Regions from separate parts of the Homo sapiens genome. Here regions 1, 2, 3, 4, 6 and 7 are each linked to region 5. Evidence: promoter capture Hi-C in 16 types of primary human blood cells and fetal thymus (Javierre and others, 2016). All regions are on one chromosome and are shown on one strand. The core of a region is centred on a gene start or on the middle of the fragment in contact, and the rest is flanking DNA. Distances in the headings are between cores, read along the strand shown. Region 1 has its middle 170 kb from the start of SYT6. Region 2 overlaps TRIM33 (tripartite motif containing 33). Region 3 has its middle 170 kb from the start of TRIM33. Region 4 overlaps TRIM33 (tripartite motif containing 33). Region 5 holds the start of OLFML3 (olfactomedin like 3). Region 6 has its middle 150 kb from the start of TRIM33. Region 7 overlaps TRIM33 (tripartite motif containing 33).

Region 1 (2,700 bases), core at 197-2,696, 340 kb after region 5:
AATTATAATAAATACTGAAAAATATTATTATATCAAGAGTACTATCAAAACAAAATTAACTTGAAAAATATCAGAAAGCTGTTCTAAGAAGCAGTTAAGTGCTAGGCATGAGACAGAGATGAGAAATCAACCAACTGGGTGTACCATCTCCAAAAAGATTGAGAATGCCTATTTTTAATGCCATATTTCATTCATGTTTAAGAAGAGCTATCATATTCTTACCTTCTTATCTGCTGTCAAACTTTCCACGTTCAATAAACTTTTTAAAATTATGAGCACATGTAGTATCATTTGAGAAATGGAATGTTGGACCTAGATTCGTGAGTTAGAAACGACTTACCTCTCTCCTTGAAGGTTTTAGAAATATTATGCACTTAAGAAAAGCTTTTTTTTTTTTTTTTTTGCAGAATGAGCTCCAAAAAACATTAAACATGAAAAAATAAGCAAGATGTGCTGAGGGAAAACTTGACATCTTAAAATTAATTTTCCTTATAAAATGCATTTACTGTTTTCTCTCTAAAGCAATGAGGAATTTTGTGGCCACTATACAACTCTGTTTTGCCTCTTTTGATGGTTTCTGAGGTCCCTGGACTCCCTAAATTATTCTTTCTGAAATATGTTCTCTTTGGCAGAGTGGAATTTTTTTCTCACGGAAAGAGTTGGTGGTTTAAAAATACCTTTTTTGGGCACAGAATAAAATATTCATCAAACCCCGCCTCCTGATTTCCCAGCATCTATTTATGAAAACCTGCCACTAAACATCTTATGGTGACCAAAAATGTTCCCAGGTGACAGCAAAAATAACTGATTTATATTATGATTTTATATTCCCAGTCCAGCTTTTAGACATTCCACAAATCTTTATGTTTGTATAGAAAATGACCTCTGGAGTTTTCTTCCTTCTCAATTACTATTTATGCCATAAGCACACAATTATTCGAGAACTGATGAGTCTTGGACTAGAATTCACTGCAGAGAGTAGTTTAGGATATAGCTTGCAAGATTTCATAGAGTAAATCCCAGAAGCTCTCCACCCAATGTCATTCCTGACAAATGAAGAAAATATAGGTTCTTTGGAAGAAAAAGATGTGATTTGTAAAGCTAGCTGAGCCAACATCTTCAAAGTAAGAGAGACAGCCAGCAACTCACTATTCATAGACATATTTTATACCCTCGAATCGTGTGGTTTCTCTGCTGGTGAGTAATGAAAGCCATTTGGTTTTTCTGTCCAAGTAATAACAAGTCTTGTTCAAGGAAACTAGTTTTATTTAAAGCTTTGAGATTGTTTTTCTTGTTTTCTTGGCTTAAAAAGAGTCAGCATTGAAAGACTCTTACTTCTTTCTTTACTATAAAAAGGAGAAAACTGCTTATTCTTTCTGAGTCCTCTGTGGAATTTGTATTCACGTAGGAAGAAATTTGTATCCCTACACCAATGTCTAGCTAGTTTTTAAATTTTTATTTAGCAGACATTTATATATACTGTCTGCACCAAGCATTTTACACTTATGAACTCCATTAATCCTTAGAATACTCAGATAAGATTTTCTTGATAATTTCTTCTTTTCCTTAAAATTCAAGGTAGCAGTATTTTTTGCTGTGGATAGGACTGCGATTCATTTTAAGCTTTTTTGTCTTTTAGAATCATCCCAAGCAGATAGAAATGGAGAAAGGAAGAGTAAACCTCTAAAATATTATTTGGGGATCAATGTCAGTAGAGAAATAACAGACCAAAGCATCCAAAAAGGAAATATTTAACTTTGATAGAGCTTGTAGTTTGAGAAATTTATATAAAAACAGACTAACTCCCAACCATATAAGCTAACCAGCTGGTATTTATTTTATCAAAACTTCAGAAACTTTTGCCACAAATATACCATGAAAGGCAATGCTACAGATTATATACTAGAGTTAATAGAGTGGTGTTAATACTGTTTTCACAATGCTCATTAAAGCATTTAGAGAAAATATCACCATGTCATACAACACTGCCCTACATGATAGAAGACCAAGATCTTAATTTGGTCTTTCAGTTCTTATATGTGTCTTTTTAATACATATCTAAAAACGTGTCTTTTAAATACATGTGTCTTTTAAATACATATTTTTAAGATGTGTCATTTAACTACAGAAATGGAGATAATAACACCTCCCTTAATGAAAATTTGGGGCAGGGCAGAAGAATCCCTGAAGTCTCTACAGTATGATCTAACATCTTATCACTCATCCCATGCATCAGTGTAACCTCATCTACCACAGCATTCCCCAAAGTGTGATTCATGGAATGCTAGATTTACATGAAAATAAAGCATTCCAAGATACACATGTTTCAGAAATGCTTCATATTATGTGGTCCTCTTGGAGATGCACAATGCAGTTAGGCTATGAGAAGCCCTGCAATAAATGACCTTGCATGATTTATTTAACCTAACCTAGCCTTAGTGTTCTGAGAATGTGGCTGGACCACTGGTTTATCTAATGAACTCTGGACAATCTGCTTCAAGATATGAGGACAAGACATTGCAGAGAATAGATTAGAGCCTGCATTCAGGAGCAGGCAGGGATGGTTTCTGTAGTGAAGTTGTTCTAGTTTGGTTCTTAGGTGCAGAGATTGGGTTTCTCGTCCTTCTCAGTTCATGACCGATTTTCACAATGGTCAAAGCAACACTCCTCTCTGCTTTTTTTTTTAATTCAGCCCTGTTC
Region 2 (2,700 bases), core at 153-2,652, 450 kb after region 5:
CAATCAGGAAACATTTCTCTTTCTGAAACTTCAATTTCCCAGAAAACTCCTATTTGAAATTTGCTAAAAATAAATCAAATCGGCAGTGGAGACTTTGATTAAAAATTTAGATTTCATGAACTGACTAGATTTTCATCTAGAAACTTACACCTACAAATAAACTTCAAAATATGCAATATAAATACCTAATATCACAAAATTTTCACTAAGTTTAAGGTTTATAAATTTCAAAAAGAGCAGCATTTTCTGCAAAACTATGGAAATATTTTTAAAATAAGGTAAAATACACAAATGACTCAAGCAGAAGCCCAACATGAATCTATATGGTAAAATTAAATTGAGGCCCCATCTTAAGGGGGTGGGGAAGAAATGTGGTGGGACTACTTTGCCTTTACGTACATCACATTTTAGTAACATTTCTTTTTTCTTTTTCTGTTTTTCATTTTGGAGACAGGGTCTCACTCTGTTGCCCAGGCTGGAGTGCAGGACACAATCACAGCTCATTGCAGCCTTGACCTCCCGGGCTCAGTCGATCCTCCCACCTCAGTTTCCTGAGTAGCTGTGACTACTGGTGCATGCCACCACCCTGGCTAATTTTTGTATTTTTTGTAGAGGCAGGTTTCGCCATGTTGCCTGGGCTGGGCTGGATCCCGGGGCTCAAGCGATCTGTCTGCCTTGGGCTCCCAAAGTGTTGGGATTACAGGTGTGAGTCACCATACCCAGTCTTAGTAACAATTATTTGATTTCTAAGAGGACATCACTATTTCCTAAGGTATACAGCTAAAGTCAGTGTTATTAAATTGGGCCGCAAAGTAACTAACTAGAAAAGGTCTCTTCCAAAAGTAAATTTTAAAAACCTTATTTTACGTTTTCCTTTATTTCCATACCCCCCAATCCATCTAAAATAGTTTTCAATAAACATTAAAAACAGCTAAAGAGCAAGAGAAGCAGTTTTTGTTTTATTTTGGCTTTGAACCATACCTCTAGCTGTTGTAAGAGAGATTTTCCTTTCTTATTAATTTCATTGATAAGGGTGAAAATGGCCACTTTAATTTCCTGTTCTACTCGTTTGTTAGTCTCATTTACTTCTTTTATCCTGAATAAGAGAAATGCATCATTAGGTTATCAACTTATCCTAGGTCTCTGAATCATCAACTGTTACAGAAATTCATCCAACTGGGCACTTAACCGAGTAATTAAAATGAAAACTTTGTCAAAATGTACAACTCATGTTTCAGCAGACCTGACCAATTTGGTCCAAACAAGTTATGTACATAGACAAATAATGAAACTAATATTTAGTAATTTTAAATTATGCTCATAAAGGACAGTTTATTAAGCTGGATGGCAATCTACTTAAGTAACTATGACATGAATGTGATGCACAAACACCAGTGACTTCTGGATAGTGTCAAATGTGGCACATTGGTTCTGTTTAACCTTGACGTTTTCCAAGAACAATGTGCAAAAGGACAATGTCACAAGCAATAATTATCTTTTGAAAGGATAATAGTTAAACATAGAAGCATTTATTTTCATTTATAACTTAGCCACTTCAAACATGGGTTCTGATACACTCCCTTCAAAATTACTCTTAATATGGTTTCCCTTTGTATACAGTAAAGGGCATAAAACATTTTCAATCCATTTTTAAGAATAGCTTTAGATGTTTTATAAGTAGGTGTAAGCACTCAAAGCAGTTATGGAAGTTTTAGGTGCAAATATGAAGTGGCTGATACTTTGGTATTTACAAAACAGGAAGTGGATAATCCCACCACTATAAATATATAAAATGTCAACGACCAACCATAAGACATAGCTTCAATTTTTATACATTCTACTTCTGTAAAAACTATAACCCATGCTTTCAGCTCCTAAACTGCCTTTCATTTGCCAAGTTCGAATTTAGTTAACTTTAATACACTCCAAGAAATAATGTAGTTTTTTTCCTTCTCTGTACATCGTTTGGCACTTACTTGAAAATTTTGAGTTTTGTCCTTATCTTACTAAGGTGAGTGGAAGATATTTTTAATATATAAAGGTACTAATAACTAGTGATAAGAAATATAGGTTTCAAATATAAAATGATTGGGCTGAAGATAGAAATCACTAAGCATGCTGAAAACAGAGAGTAGTTAGAGAGTAGTTAGTCTCAGTCAGACTCCTATTGGATTTAATTAAGTCTACTGTATGTTCAGTTTTGAAGAAAGAAAAAAATGTACATTAAAAAATAATGGAGATAGGTCAGTGAAAAATGTGTCTAAAAGGGGAAGTTATCAGAGATTTTAATACTGTTTTTTTAAAAACTTTCTACAGATGAAATCAATCTCCTCAACCCCGTGCAATCTTGTAACAGGTAAACCTCTTGCCCTACTTTTGTATACAGATTCTGGAACACGTGTACAAAATATATTTAAAAAATACTTATACAATGTACACACAAAACATCTGTATAAAAATATGGGACTGCCATATGAATCAACTCACTACATTTCCTTTGAAAGAGACATCCATCTATCATTTCTGAGAAACAGTCTTCTCCAAATCAACTGTATCACCAGTTTAACCTAAAACAACTGAACATTTCCAAAAACAAAAACCCACCAATGGAGTGTGTGTGTGTGTACAATCTACAAGCTCTAAGGAGCCTTTTATTTTCTTTTGGTGTTACTTAAGATAAAAAGTTCTGGCCGGGCACAG
Region 3 (2,903 bases), core at 404-2,903, 360 kb after region 5:
AAAAAAGAAGACAAGCTTAAATCTCTAAATGTCCAACTCAAAGACTTTCCAGTAATGTGCTAAAATGATATCTTATTTACAGTCTTTTAAGGCTAGCATAGCTGAAAGCCAAGCACAGAAGTGCATTGCCAAATTTCAACATCTGCTGAGGTGACATACTGAAGCAGCTACATGGTCCAGGGTATATACCCTGGGGTTCGTCATCTCGCGCCGGGAAAATTTAGGACAGGGAGACACACGAGGAGTTTAGGAGCAGAGATTTAATAGAGAGAAGAGAAGAGAAATAGAAACAGCTCTCTCTCTAGAGAGGGGTCTCCCAACAGAAAATGACCAGCTGGTGGAGGAGGCACTGGGTTTTATAGTCCAGCTTGAGGAGATGTCGCCTGATTTACGTAGGGCTCACAGATTGGTTGGATCAGGTATGATGTTTACACAGCCCCGGGGAAGGCTGGCTACCCTGCCCTAATCTTATTATGTAAATGAACTCTCCTGCTGACCCGTGCCACCTTGTCTCCTTTTTACTGTACACGTGGCTGATAAAGAGAAGGGAAGATGGGGCCACCATTTTGAACATGATTGGCACAACTGCCGGTATCTATCAGCTCAATTTTACAGGCTGCTCTTTGTTAGAAGGGAAAATGATTTGGGGCTGCTTTTCATTAAAAGGAAAATCTTACTGAGGACTTCCCTACCCTCACTATCTGCCTAAGTAATTTCTTAACTTCTATATCAAAACTCCCTAGGTATGTTATATAAAGGATAGGGCATTGTTCAGAAAGGACTGTGGCCCCTACATGGGGCACGATGGCTCACGCCTATAATCCTACACTTTGGGAAGTCAAGGCAGGAGGATCACTTGAGCTCAGGAGTTTAAGACTAGCCTGGACAATATACTGAGACCTCATCTCTACAAAAAAAATTAACTGAGCATGGTGTTGCATACCTGTAGTCTCAGCTATTCAGAAAGCTGAAGTGGGAAGATCACTTAGCCTGGGAGGTTGAGGCTGCAGTGAGCCAAGACTGCACCACTGCACTCCATCCTGGACGACAGAGAAAAACCATGTCCCCGCCCCAAAAAAAGACAGCGACCCCCAAAATTGTAATAAGGACATTTGGGAAGATCTCGGAGACTCATAGAACACCAAACATGGAACCCTCCGGGTCTCTCTTGCCAGCTAAAAGGCATGTCCCTCCCTTGTCTGATGAGGCTGCTCCTGCGTAGTTTGAAGATGCTCTAACTCTGTGCACAGACTTCCTCACAGAAAGAAGCCAGCTCTGCTCATGCCTCTTTCCTCCACGCCGTCACTCATGGCTCATAAGTCTGTAAATAGAGTCAGACTCTCGCATGACCTGGAAGCAGGAAGTGGAGCTTTTGATTACTTAAAAAGTTAAATCCCCACCAAAAGACTCAGATAAGCAGATTCTAAGGTGGAGATTAGCAAGCAAGACCTTTATCAGGAAGTGAGCTTGAGACCACCCCTGTGGAGCAGAAGGGACAGAAGCAGCCTTGGGCAAGGAAGCAGTTGTGCTGTGCGCACAATTAGCATAGCTCTGGAGCTAGATGGTCATTTAGAGCTCTTCTGAGTTGGAACCAAGGAGCCAGCCTTTGTTAACCCAACTTTGACCAGTCGTTGGATGTGGCTGCTTCATGATGGGGACATGACCTTGGGCTAGGGACATTTCTTCACTCAAGGCATCCCCAGAGTGAGCTGCTGGCTGAGGGCCCACTCCCAGCAGCTGGGAGAGTAAGTCCTTCATTTCTGAGAGGGGATACAGTGGTGCACCACAGTGTCCAGCACCGTGCATTATTTTAAATCAGCCTGAAATTAATCAGGAGTATGCTCACCAGAAATCAGGAGACAGTGTGCTATCTCCAGCCATTGCAAGTGGCCCTAATTGCTGCCTGTCAGTTGTTTTGAAATGTGGGCTCAACAGTGGCTCATGTGAAATGAAATTCCATGAAACAATGGAAGAAATAATCCAAAAATTTCGGAATATAGAAGTGCTGGAGAGGATTTATCATGTGTCACCTACCCATTCATCTGCTAATTCTCTCTCAAGAGGGCCCAGAAGAGGGCCCAGATTGGTGAGGGAGCACCTCTATCTCTGAGAAGCAGTCTTGTGACTGATTTCCGTAAACTAAAGATGCAATTGTAAGCAGTTGAAATGGGATCCCTGATTTTAATGGAAAAGGAAAGATACCAGAATAGCAGAAGCTGATTTCAGGCACTTAACTACAAAAGACAAGATAATCATGGTAGTTATAATAGACAAGAGGGCTGGAATGGTAATAAAAATGATCCAACCTGACTTGATGGGGGCTAACTGATGAAGTCTGGGGTAGAAATTGAAGTTCTCCATCAATATCCACTCTCTTGTTCTCTCTAACCCAGCCTCCTTTCAGCTGATATGGTTATATAACCAGCTCTGGCCAATGAAGTGAAAGAAGAAAGGTGGGCTATCTTCATCCATTGTGCTGCTATAACAAAATACCTGAGACCGGGTAACTTGTGAAGAACAGGAATTTATTTATCACAGTTCTGGAGGCTGGGAAGTTCAAGATCAAGGCACCAGTAGGTTTGCTGTCAGTGAGGGCTGCTCTCTGCTTCCAAGATGGTGCCTTGTTGCAGCATCCTCCAGAGGTGAAAAATGCTATGTCCTCACATGACAGAAGGGCAAAAAAGGGCCAGACTCTCTGTGAAGGCTCTTTTATGAAGGCTTTATTCCTATTCACAAGGGAGAAGCCCTCATGATCTAAGCATCTCCCAAAAGGCCCCACCTCTTAATACTGCCACTATGAGGATTAAGTTTCAATATGTAAATGTTGGAGGGGACACCATCACTCAAACCACAGCATGGGTCATCTCCAGGACATGCCCTTAAAGGAGGTGGGGAGGATACCA
Region 4 (2,700 bases), core at 2-2,501, 420 kb after region 5:
AAAAATATGCAACTTTCCCCAATTTTTAAAATAAAATGCCACAATATAGTGTCATTACTTCCAGCATACATTTAAATTTCTTAATTTTTAAAAGATAGACTGGGTGATATGCATACAAACTTTCCTATAAAATCACCATCCAGGAGAGGATTCTGACATGCTATTAGGCAACAGACTCAAAGCAGTGTTATTGCTTTATCAAGGAGGAGATTAACTGTGAGGGAAAAAAAATTAAATATCCAGGTCCGGTACATGATCAAACTGTATTACACCTTGAAAATCTTGAGTCACCTTCAGCAGATCATTAACATAGATGGTACAGAAATTAAGAATTCATGGTATGAATTAAGAATCTGTTTTAACTAAGGGAGTTGGGTGCGTGGATTTTTTATAAAACTACTCACTGATCCGATGCTGAGTATGCAAATAAGCAGTGCTGATTTTGACAAGAAATGAGATTTTTATATTTCACATGTTGTACATGAATGGGGGTGGATATGGGACGTAAAAGCCAAGGGAGACGGGGCCACAGCATCTACTCCCATTTTGGATAGTAAGAGACCATTTAATAACATACAGTAGGCCACAATCCAAGGGCATAGTTGGAAGACCTGAATCTATTATCTTATTAACACTAATCACTAATAATTACATGGCAGGATACCTGCTGAGGTAATTGATAAATCTACAATTTGCACACTTATAAACCTTTTACTTCTATTTAAAAGCATTATTTATTTCAATTAACTAAAAATTCCAAAACTTATCACAAAAAATGAGACAACTGACTTAGCATTACCTAAAATTCCCTTATGTTAAGATACAGAAGTCAGAAAGTACCAACTTGTTGATCCAAAAATAATAATTTCAATAGTGGATCCAATGCCTTATCATTTCTCTGTAGTAATGGTTTGATGTTTCCATATAGAGCACGACCTACAATCTAACCATACTTTAGAACTTTCACATGCTTTGCCTCATAAAGCAATTCCTTCACTCAGTGAATTGGCTGAGCCAAGTGCTGAAAACACAAATTTAGGTCAGCGGAACAGACTGAGCAACACTTTGTTCTTAGTTTTCTGATGGAAGAAGTAAATTGAAGTACAGCAAAAACTTTAAAAGCTTTTAAGAAAACATTATTATGTGGACTTTTCTCCAAATCTTCTAAAATACTGCCATTTAAAAAACAAATACAAATGTGAGAGAGTATAAAAACAAACTGCCTTCAGGGACTGACAGATACAATTTTGTCTTTTTAAAACATAAACTAATAGGAAAACATATATCTAAATATCAATTTAAGTTTTTATACTTTTTAACCATAGGTATATTAGAGCTGAAAAAATCAGCTTAGAAACACAACGATCAGTGTGCAAGAAAAAAGCTTTAATAAAAAATCTAAAGTGAATACCTTAATTTAATGGTGGTATGTTGATAGCTATTAATAGTAATTCCTCAGCAGTATACATTATCTTAACAGAAGTGGAGGCTATTAAATGTTGACAAAAAAGTGGCTTTTAAATTGCTTTAACCAATCTTAAAACCAAAAAAACCTAAAAACTCTATCTAACATGTAATTTTAAGGAAACACAATTATTTTTTAAGGCCCCAAATACTGAAAAATATTTACTTAAAATGTTTCTCCCCTCAGTTGGCAGAATCTATTTATGACTCATTATCTACAATTTTTTTAAAAGGATCCATTTGAAGAGCAATACAAAATATTAGAACTCAAAGGCCTGACAAAATGAAGTTATACTGCTGCTATTCCTCACTTTCCAAAAATGTGCCCTTAGATATATGTCTACTTACAAACTGAAATCATGGATTTTGTGAAAAAAGAGGGAAATTGGCATAGGCATAAGTATTTTTAAATAATTTTCTCCCTCTTATTAAAAAACATTTTTAGGAATTTAAAATTTGAGTAAAATGTTTCAACAGTTTGGTATATTTTCAACGGCTTAAATTATTTTTTAAAAATTGAAAGAAAAGTGAAAAGGAAGCCAGGAATAAAGTAAATCAATAGTAATAATAAAATCAATACTCTTTAAATACACAACCAGAAAGCCTGAATCATATTCCTGTTTACCCCCACCCCTTGTTAAGAAAAGAAAAACAACCCAAAGGAATTTGTATAATAATTTCTTTAGAGCACTTTATTTGATTCAATATGCATTAAAAAATATTGACCTCTTAGACAATTACGTGAAATAATTTTCTGAGTAGTCTACTCTCTGAACTGCTTAAATGAATTTTTAAAAAGGCAAATAAATGATTTGCCACAAATCTGCTGACTTCTGAAAAATATCTAACAGCAAATTCTTCTATTTTGGTCTCTGAATATTCTAATGTGTCCATACAAAAGTAGGACTAAAATCTTTAATCAAACAAAAGAGAAGCCTGTAACAGTGTAGAACACACATTTTGAATCTGAGCATCACAAATGAAGAAAAGAAAAATGAACCAGAGCCAAGTTGGTTTATCGGCCTCGGGTGCTGTAATTGGGGTGGTAAAGGTGGGTTTACTCCAGTAACCATTCAAGTGGGGATTGGCTCATTTTCAGGATTTACTTACAGGTCTCTTCTAAGTCCTTTAAGCCCCCAGTCCATGCAAATGTCCCACTTGGTGGACAGATGAGTAATCTAACCCCACCGGGTTTATTTCAATATTTCGATATTTCAATAATAAGCTGCTTCTGAA
Region 5 (2,778 bases), core at 66-2,565:
TACTGTTAGAGTCATGGTCCTTTTTACAGAAGGAACCTCTCATCAGATTCTGTTGATTCTAAAGTGAATAGAATTTCTCCCGATAAAGAAATAGGGGTTTGTTTCGATTAATGACTGCAGGTCTCTGAGTAAATGCTCTATTTGATTTTTTTTTTCGGCCCGTGTGTCTACCTTATGGCCCAAGTCTACCTTATGGTGGCCATTAATTCATTTTGGGCTCCTGCAGCCTTAGTTGGGATATAGAAATGAGAAACACTCAGAAATACCCTTTTGGACCACAACCAAGAGAAATAACCAATAGTCTTTTCTCCCAGTGGTAAGGAAGTCAGAATACATTGATCTAGACTGCAACAACATATATATATATATCAGATTCCGCCCCCCCGCAATACATGAATGTATAGTAAATTAGTGTGAACTCACTGAACACTCCTCAGTTTTGGTGAGAGACTATATCTGGCCTCTTTCAAGCAAAGGAAAGCCATGTAAAACAGCGCTGCTGTCAGCCTTAACTTCCAGACGATCGAGTTAATTTACTAACTTCTCAGTGACCTGTTTTTTTTTTTTTTTTAATCTCAGTTATATTTTCTTCCTTGGGCTAAATCAGATATTTGCATAGCCCCCAAAGTAGTAATTGGATAGTCTTGGGGGAAATATGCATTTCAGTGGTGAAAACCCCTGTAAATTCAATATATTTGGCTTTTGTGGAAAATTTTCCTCATGGGGTGAAGTCTAAGCCTTAGTTTCTGTATTATCATGAGAGATGACACCAGCTGCTTAGCACAAGGTGGCGCCAATGAGCTTTAGAATAAGTTGGGCTTGACCACTTGGGCCATTGTTTTCCTGCTTCCTCCCTTCAAGCCTCACCTCCCCAGCTCCCAGCTTCTACTGAACAAGGCTGAAAACCCACTCTATTGCAGGGAAAGGGAAAGATTAATGAAAAATGTCAGTTTCTTAAGTCAGCACTGGTGAAACTTTCCTAAAACAGGAATGGCGTTTGCTGAGTTTTCTCTGGGGTCTCTGCTTTCTGCAGCTAGCTTCCCTGCTTGACTGCCTAGAAGGCCTCTGCTTTCGGGTTTCCATCTCTTTCCCCTCCAGAGGACCCTACAGCCTAGGCGGGAGGTGGTTAAGGCTTCTGGCTGCTGTGCAATGGGGCCATCTGTGTTTGATCAATCCTGGCGGAAAGGAGGGGGTGGGGGTTGTAAAGAGAACTGAAAGCATTCCAGAGTAGTGAGAGAGACCCAGAGATCAGGAGAGAAGGCACCGCCCCCACCCCGCCTCCAAAGCTAACCCTCGGGCTTGAGGGGAAGAGGCTGACTGTACGTTCCTTCTACTCTGGCACCACTCTCCAGGCTGCCATGGGGCCCAGCACCCCTCTCCTCATCTTGTTCCTTTTGTCATGGTCGGGACCCCTCCAAGGACAGCAGCACCACCTTGTGGAGTACATGGAACGCCGACTAGCTGCTTTAGAGGTGAGGGACCCCTTTCTCTTCTAGCCCCGCCTAGAAGGATTCCAGGGCTATTGGTTCAACCAGTTTGTTAGGGATCTGGGGATAACAAGAAAGGGCTCTGTTAGAGTCTACAGAAAATTCTCTCTTAATAAGAGGACCTTCGGAATGACAAGCCCTCCTCTTACCCCACATAGAACAATTCCAAAGCAAATCGACTTTTGCGTTTTACCTCTGGGATTAGATAGAATAAGGGGGCAGAGTGGAAACGAGAGCCAAAATTGTGGGGCTGCATCTCCAGAGAAGGTGATGATTCTGTTGAAGTTGGAGGTTCCCGGGGAATCTATAACTTCCTGTCTTTTTAACAGGTTGAGATCCGTAGCATTTTAGTGTCCGAGAGGATAATTGCTAAGGGAGCAGAGACCTCTTCACACCTTCATGCGCTTAGACCTGCCTAGAGGCTCAGATGGCTCAGTGGCACTGCTCACAGAGAACACAGGCTGGAGGACATGGAGTCGGGGTAGGGGCCTAGGTGAATCTCAGCTAGGCTCTTTGCACATTTAGCACCTCTGCACATCTGGTTTCCTTTTCTGCAGGAGTGGAAGGGGATATTGAAGCCTGGCTGAGTTTGCTCTTTTTTTCCCATTCCTGACTCCCGAGTTGGGCCTCTCCCTGCCTGGGAGTTGTAACCCTGCAGCCTCCCTCCTGATCCCCCATCCCTTCAGGAACGGCTGGCCCAGTGCCAGGACCAGAGTAGTCGGCATGCTGCTGAGCTGCGGGACTTCAAGAACAAGATGCTGCCACTGCTGGAGGTGGCAGAGAAGGAGCGGGAGGCACTCAGAACTGAGGCCGACACCATCTCCGGGAGAGTGGATCGTCTGGAGCGGGAGGTAGACTATCTGGAGACCCAGAACCCAGCTCTGCCCTGTGTAGAGTTTGATGAGAAGGTGACTGGAGGCCCTGGGACCAAAGGCAAGGGAAGAAGGAATGAGAAGTACGATATGGTGACAGGTAAATAATCTGAAAGCAGGCCCCTAACTCTTCTCAGAACCGATATTCTTCCTTCCTTGCTTCTTACTCTTTTTTTCGCTTTGTCCCAGTCCATTGTGGCTCTGTCTTCTGGAATCTGTTTTAGGGAAACCTCTGTAATGCCAGGTCTATTAAGGAGAGGTTCTGGGGATCCAGGCCGCTGTGGTACCCGCTCTTTCTCAATTCTCCCTAAGATTGGAGGCAACCACTGGGCAAATGCTCACTATTCTCCAGATCACCCACCCTGGGGGAGTTCCTGCTGGAGGCATCTAATTCTTGCCTCTATTTCCTTTTCCTGTGC
Region 6 (2,700 bases), core at 158-2,657, 380 kb after region 5:
AAAAAACTAAAAAATTACCCAGGAGTGGTGATGTATGCTTGTGGTCCCAGCTACTAGGGAGTCTGAGGTGGGAGGATGCATTGAGCCCATGAGGTTGAGGCTGCAGTGAGCCATGATCACGCCACTGCACTCCAGCCTGGGCAACAGAGTGAGAACTTGTCTCAATATAAAAAAATAAATAAATAAATGCAGTTTGTTGGTGAATTGAAAAGGAATCAGCCTTTCAGTCATGATGGGTAGCCTCTGACCTCCACTATGTACATCCCCACTAAAATTGGGTAGGTGTCCTGTAGGACTGAGACTCAGCAGTTAGCTGACCTCTTGTACAAATTTGGATGCGAATAGTTATGCGCTGACTGAAACATCTGGTCTGGTTTGATTTGAGAGAAAAGAAACATGGCAAAAAGGTTATGAATATGGAAGTGGAAGAATGGGAACAGAATGTGATGAGGCAATAAAGGATGAGGTCTGATGAATGGAGAGATTGTGTATGAAAAGTCCATGAGTCTATGGAACCAGCAAAGCATGAAAGGTTTAAGACACTTCATCAGTTGGGTTTTCTTGCCTTGAAAAAGGGGGAATAGAAAATGATTTGGTAAGTACTCCCTCTTTCACTTCCTTTGGAAGGGATTGGGCAAAATAAGTATTATTTCCTCCTCATATACGTAGAATTAGTTTTTTTGGTTTTTTGTTTGTTTGTTTTTGAGACAGAGTTTTTGAGACTCTGTCACCCAGGTGGGAGTGCAAGGGCGCGATCTCTGCTCACTGCAAACTCTGCCTCCCAGGTTCAAGCGATTCTCCTGTCTCAGCCTCCTGAGTAGCTAGGATGATAGGTGCCTGCCACCACGCCTGGCTAATTTTTGCATTTTTAGTAGAGATGGGGTTTCACCATGTTGGCCAGGCCAGTCTCAAACCCCCGATCTCAGGTGATCTGCCCACCTCGGCCTCCCAAAGTGCTGGGATTGCAGGCGTAAGCCACCATGTCTGGCCTAGAATTAGTTTAGAAAGCCATTTATCTGTGGAGTTTTCTTTAATGAAAGGTTAACTATAGATGCATTTCTCAAACGTTATAAAAATTTGCATCAGTTTTAATTTTTCTAGAAATTTGTTGATTTCGTCTAAATTTTCCAATTTACTGGCATAAAGTTGTCCATAAAATCTTGTTTTAGGCCCGGTGCAGTGGCTCACGCCTGTAATCGCAGCACTTAGGAGGCTGAGACGGGTGGATCACTTGAGGCCAGGAGTTTGAGACCAGCCTGGCCAACATGGTGAAACCCTGTCTCTACTAAAAATACAAATATTAGCTGGGCGTGGTAGCTGCGTGTACTCCCAGCTACTTGGGAGGCTGAGGCAGGAGAATCACTTGAACCCGGGAGGCAGAGGTTGCAGTGAGCCTAGATCGTGCCACTGCACTCCAGCCTGGGTGACAGAGTGAGACCGTCTCAACAAATTAAAAAAAAAAAAAAAGAGAGAAAGAAAGAAAGAAAGAAAAGAAGAGAAAAATCTTTTTTAAAAAATTCATTTTAGGGCCAGGTGCGGTGGCTCATGCCTGTAATCCCAGCACTTTGGGAGGCCGAGGCAGGTAGATCACGAGGTCAGGAGATCGAGACCATCCTGGCTAACATGGTGAAACCCCGTCTCTACTAAAAATACAAAAAATTAGCCAGGCGTGGTGGTGTGCACCTGTAGTCACAGCTACTTGGGAGGCTGAGGCAGGAAAATGGTGTGAATCTGGGAGGCGGAGATTGCAGTGAGCTGAGATCGTGCCACTGCACTCCAGCCTGGGCGACAGAGCGAGACTCCATCTCAAAAAAAAAAAAAAATTCATTTTAGGCCAGGCACGTGGCTCACGCCTGCAATCCCAGCACTTTGGGAGACTGAAGTGGGCAGATCACCTGGGTCAGGAGTTCAAGACCACCATGGCCAACATGGCAAAAATCCATCTCTATCAAAATATGTAAAAATTAGCTGGGCATGGTGGTGTGCACCTGTAATCTCAGCTACTGGGGAGGCTGAGGTTTGAGGATCACTTGAACCTGGGAGGTGGAGGTTGCAGTGAGCTGAGATCATGCCACTGCACTCCAGTCTGGATGACAGAGTAAGACTCTGTCTCAAAATAAAAATAAAAACAAAAATTCATTTTAAACTTTTAATTGTAAAATAAAGTGCAGATACAGAAAAATCATACAAATGTAGTTGTGTGAATTTTGATTGGGTTGACACCCACATAACTATTAATTGGACCAAGAAATAAAACTCTGCTGGCCACCCCAGAAGTCCCACCTTCTGACATGTTCCTATCACAGCCCACTCCCTTCCTCCAAAAGTAACCACCATTGTGACTTAATCGGTTCTTTGTGTTTCTTTAAGATTTTATAACCTGAATGCATTCTATTCAGGTATTCTGAACAGAATTTATAACCTGAATGCATTCTATTCAGTATTTTTTTAAGGCATGCCTTTTTTTTTTTTTTTTTTTTTTTGAGACGAAGTCTCCCTCTGTCATCCAGGCTGGAGTGCAGTGGTGCGATCTCAGCTCACTGCAACCTCTGTCTCCCAGGTTCAAGCAATTCTTCTGCCTCAGCCTCCCAAGTAGCTGGGATTACAGGCACACAATACCAGGCCCGGCTAATTTTTGTATTTTTAGTAGAGACGGGGGTCTCACCATGTAGGCCAGGCTGGTCTCGAACTCCTGACCTC
Region 7 (2,828 bases), core at 266-2,765, 430 kb after region 5:
AAGTGGGCCTCATATAATCAGGTAAAGCCCTTTTAAGAGAGAAGAGAAGACGGAGCCCTGTTCTCTCCCCTACCTCCTCATGCCCCAAAGAAGAAATTTTGTCTCAAGACTGTAACAATACTCTTACCTGGGTCTCCAGCCTGCCTCACCTCCCTGCCAACACCCACAATCACATGAGCCAATTCCTTAAAATAAATCTCTCTCAATCTCCCTTTCTCTCTTCAAGTAGACCTCCTACTTATTCTGTTTTTCTGGAGAATTCTGACTAAGACAGATACTGACACTGTTTTTTTAAGGTGTTAAAAAATAAGGTAATACCCGTTTGCTTTACCTGATGATCCCGGAGAAAGGGCAGAGGGACCTGGAGAAGGATTCATGGTGCTTGTAGGCTGTGGGGGTAGGTGACTGCCTGAGATGTATCTACTTAGTAGATTATCTAAACTACTTGAGCCAGCATCTTCCAACTGAAGAGAAAGAAGATAAAGACAAATTTGCTTTGATTAAAGCAGAGAAGTTATTAATTTTATGTCACTGCTTATACTCAGTTTATTAATAAACTAACAGATTATCCAATATCAAGCTGAGCCTTATTATTGCTTCCTTAGGGTCCACTGAGGGCCCACACAGTATAAAGTTTATTTAGATAAAACTGTATTATTCAGCAAACAACTAGGTGCTCAGAGCAAAACAAATCCTATATGTTCTATTATGAAAATAGCTGACATGCTCTGACACTTCTGCTGTTTCTCAAAATTGCTGCAGGACCTATTTATCAGTATTCTTGTCCCCAGTATCCCTCCATTTCAGTGTCCACAATCATTCACTTAAATAGAAATGTAATTATGTTAGTACCCAGCTCTGAAACTCTGAAAAATTCTTATAGCCCACAGAAAGCCCTTAGCTTGACACACAAGGCCCCTTACTACAAAAAAAAAAGGGCACAGTTAACAGTACATATGAGCCCTTCCCTTACTTAGAGGCAGTACGATAAAGCCAGAAGACCCATAACTATGATTCTGGGCTGGTTCTCAACCTGAACGTCAGTTTCCTATCCTTAAAACATGCCACCTATATTGCAGAACTCCGATGATTAAATGACAAAATGTGTAAGAAAGAGTAAAAAAAATTATTTAAGTATGAATATTACCTTAAATCTTATACTATTTCATAAAAGAAATGGTCATATTCTTCTTTTATTTATTTTTGAGACAGGGTCTGGCTCTGCTGTCCAGACTGAAGAGCAGTGGCATCATCTTGACTCACTGCAACCTCCACCTCCCAGGCTCAAGCCATGCCCTCCATTTCAGCCTCCTGAATAGCTAGGACTACAGGCATGCGCCACAACGCCTGGCTAATTTTTGTGTTTTTTTTTTATAGAGATGGGATTTTGCTACATTGCCCAGATTGGTCTCCAACTCCTGAGCTCAAGCAATCTGCACACCTTAGTCTCCCAAAGTACTGGGATTACAAACAAAACAAAACCCATGCCAGAGACATGAAGGGCTGAAGGTAGGAGTAGGCAGTAGGTTAGTTGGAGGGATAATCAAAGGACAATAGCAGTTGTGTTACCCTGTGGTCATAGCTGTTGGCCAAGGATGCACTTGCAAAGCTGTGACTACAGGTGAATCCCTAGCTGCAACTCAAGTCAACAGGAAGATTTGTTATGAGGGGGGAGTACCTAATATGGGCCAGAGATGAAAATGGGGATGCATCCCACCTAAAAACAGAAGGGGGAAGATGATTCAAAACTGACATGAAAATCCCATGTTACCTATTTCCACTCCTTTTTATACTCCTCACCTGCAATTTGTATCTTTTGCTAGAAAGATAACTCTAAGGGTAGAGGATGGACAGGTCAGGAAGAGGCAAACAGGAAATACATTAAAGGACATCCCTGATGTCATTATAACCTCCAACAGATAGGTGCTAACTGAAGCATTCACCTGTGGGTTTCACTAGACATGGATAGTCACCATAAATAAAGTTAGAAGTCTAACTGGAAAGACATTAATTCATTTATTCATTAAAGCAATGTTTTTTGAGCATCCCTGAATAAGTACATGGAAATATAATTATTATATAAATAATTTTCATGATTTAAAAGTAAAAACACAGTCCAATAGGAAAATGAGCAAAGATATTTCACAAAAGACAAAGATAATTTACAGAAGAAATAAAAATAATCAACGAACATAAGAAAACCAATTTCACCAATCAAAGAAATGAAAATAAAGTTAACAATAATGTCATTTTAATCCATCACTGGAAAAGATGGAAGAATGATTAATTTACCTAGTATTGGGAAGACAATGCAAAAATGGGCATTTTCAAATATATAAGCTGGCACAATATTTTTTGTAGAGCAATTTGCCAATACCTATGTGAAATTTAAATGTGTAATTACTTTTGGCCCAGTAATTACACTTCTACCAACTTCGCTTACAGAAATATGTGTTTAAAACTATACAGTCATTGTGCCTCAATGCAGCTTTTTACAAATGACATTAAGGTATAAATGATGTACAATAAACTAAATATATTCAAAGTGTAGTACCTGATGTGAAAGTTTAACACATTTTCACATAGTCTACAACTGGGAAACCCAAATCAAGAATAGTGAACAGATCATATCTATCACCCCCAAGATTCCTCATGCCCCATGGTAATCAATCCCTCTCTCAAACAACCTGTCCTCAACCAACCACTCATCTGCTTCCTTCAGCTTTAGTTTTTTTTTCCAGAGTTTTATATAATTTGAATTATATACTGTACGCTTTTTTCATCTATTTTTTTCACTTGGTAAAACTGAGATTTATCCTTGCTGTTGG

What was found. The method cuts DNA at HindIII sites, captures the fragments that hold promoters and counts their contacts. A CHiCAGO score of 5 or more calls a contact.
Region 1: a contact is called between a fragment that was not itself captured here and the fragment with the promoter of OLFML3 in region 5, in 4 of 17 cell types (M1 macrophages, M0 macrophages, M2 macrophages and 1 more). The highest score is 7.6, in M1 macrophages.
Region 2: a contact is called between a fragment that was not itself captured here and the fragment with the promoter of OLFML3 in region 5, in 3 of 17 cell types (total CD8 T cells, megakaryocytes and naive CD8 T cells). The highest score is 9.0, in total CD8 T cells.
Region 3: a contact is called between a fragment that was not itself captured here and the fragment with the promoter of OLFML3 in region 5, in 9 of 17 cell types (M1 macrophages, megakaryocytes, M0 macrophages and 6 more). The highest score is 18.7, in M1 macrophages.
Region 4: a contact is called between a fragment that was not itself captured here and the fragment with the promoter of OLFML3 in region 5, in 1 of 17 cell types (M1 macrophages). The highest score is 6.1, in M1 macrophages.
Region 6: a contact is called between a fragment that was not itself captured here and the fragment with the promoter of OLFML3 in region 5, in 4 of 17 cell types (M1 macrophages, M2 macrophages, megakaryocytes and 1 more). The highest score is 10.5, in M1 macrophages.
Region 7: a contact is called between a fragment that was not itself captured here and the fragment with the promoter of OLFML3 in region 5, in 1 of 17 cell types (megakaryocytes). The highest score is 5.1, in megakaryocytes.

The regions. Positions count from the first base shown.
Region 1 is chr1:114,318,496-114,321,195 of GRCh38, forward strand. No RefSeq gene overlaps it. Among named protein-coding and RNA genes, the nearest start is that of SYT6, 170 kb to the left of the region's middle. The HindIII fragment of the contact is 349 bases long and covers 1,273-1,621 here.
Region 2 is chr1:114,429,817-114,432,516 of GRCh38, forward strand. It overlaps TRIM33 (tripartite motif containing 33), which reads right to left. Exons shown (of 20, transcript NM_015906.4): 6 at 982-1,096. Among named protein-coding and RNA genes, the nearest start is that of TRIM33, 80 kb to the right of the region's middle. The HindIII fragment of the contact is 4,986 bases long and covers 1-2,700 here.
Region 3 is chr1:114,338,259-114,341,161 of GRCh38, forward strand. No RefSeq gene overlaps it. Among named protein-coding and RNA genes, the nearest start is that of TRIM33, 170 kb to the right of the region's middle. The HindIII fragment of the contact is 3,280 bases long and covers 14-2,903 here.
Region 4 is chr1:114,393,784-114,396,483 of GRCh38, forward strand. It overlaps TRIM33 (tripartite motif containing 33), which reads right to left. Exons shown (of 20, transcript NM_015906.4): 20 at 1-2,700. Among named protein-coding and RNA genes, the nearest start is that of TRIM33, 120 kb to the right of the region's middle. The HindIII fragment of the contact is 262 bases long and covers 1,121-1,382 here.
Region 5 is chr1:113,978,159-113,980,936 of GRCh38, forward strand. It overlaps OLFML3 (olfactomedin like 3), which reads left to right and starts at 1,316. Exons shown (of 3, transcript NM_020190.5): 1 at 1,316-1,472; 2 at 2,174-2,459. The coding sequence starts at 1,359. RefSeq lists an enhancer at 560-1,393. The HindIII fragment of the contact is 3,076 bases long and covers 1-2,778 here.
Region 6 is chr1:114,354,880-114,357,579 of GRCh38, forward strand. It overlaps the pseudogene LOC100421116. Among named protein-coding and RNA genes, the nearest start is that of TRIM33, 150 kb to the right of the region's middle. The HindIII fragment of the contact is 5,260 bases long and covers 1-2,700 here.
Region 7 is chr1:114,409,853-114,412,680 of GRCh38, forward strand. It overlaps TRIM33 (tripartite motif containing 33), which reads right to left. Exons shown (of 20, transcript NM_015906.4): 12 at 332-464. Among named protein-coding and RNA genes, the nearest start is that of TRIM33, 100 kb to the right of the region's middle. The HindIII fragment of the contact is 6,971 bases long and covers 1-2,828 here.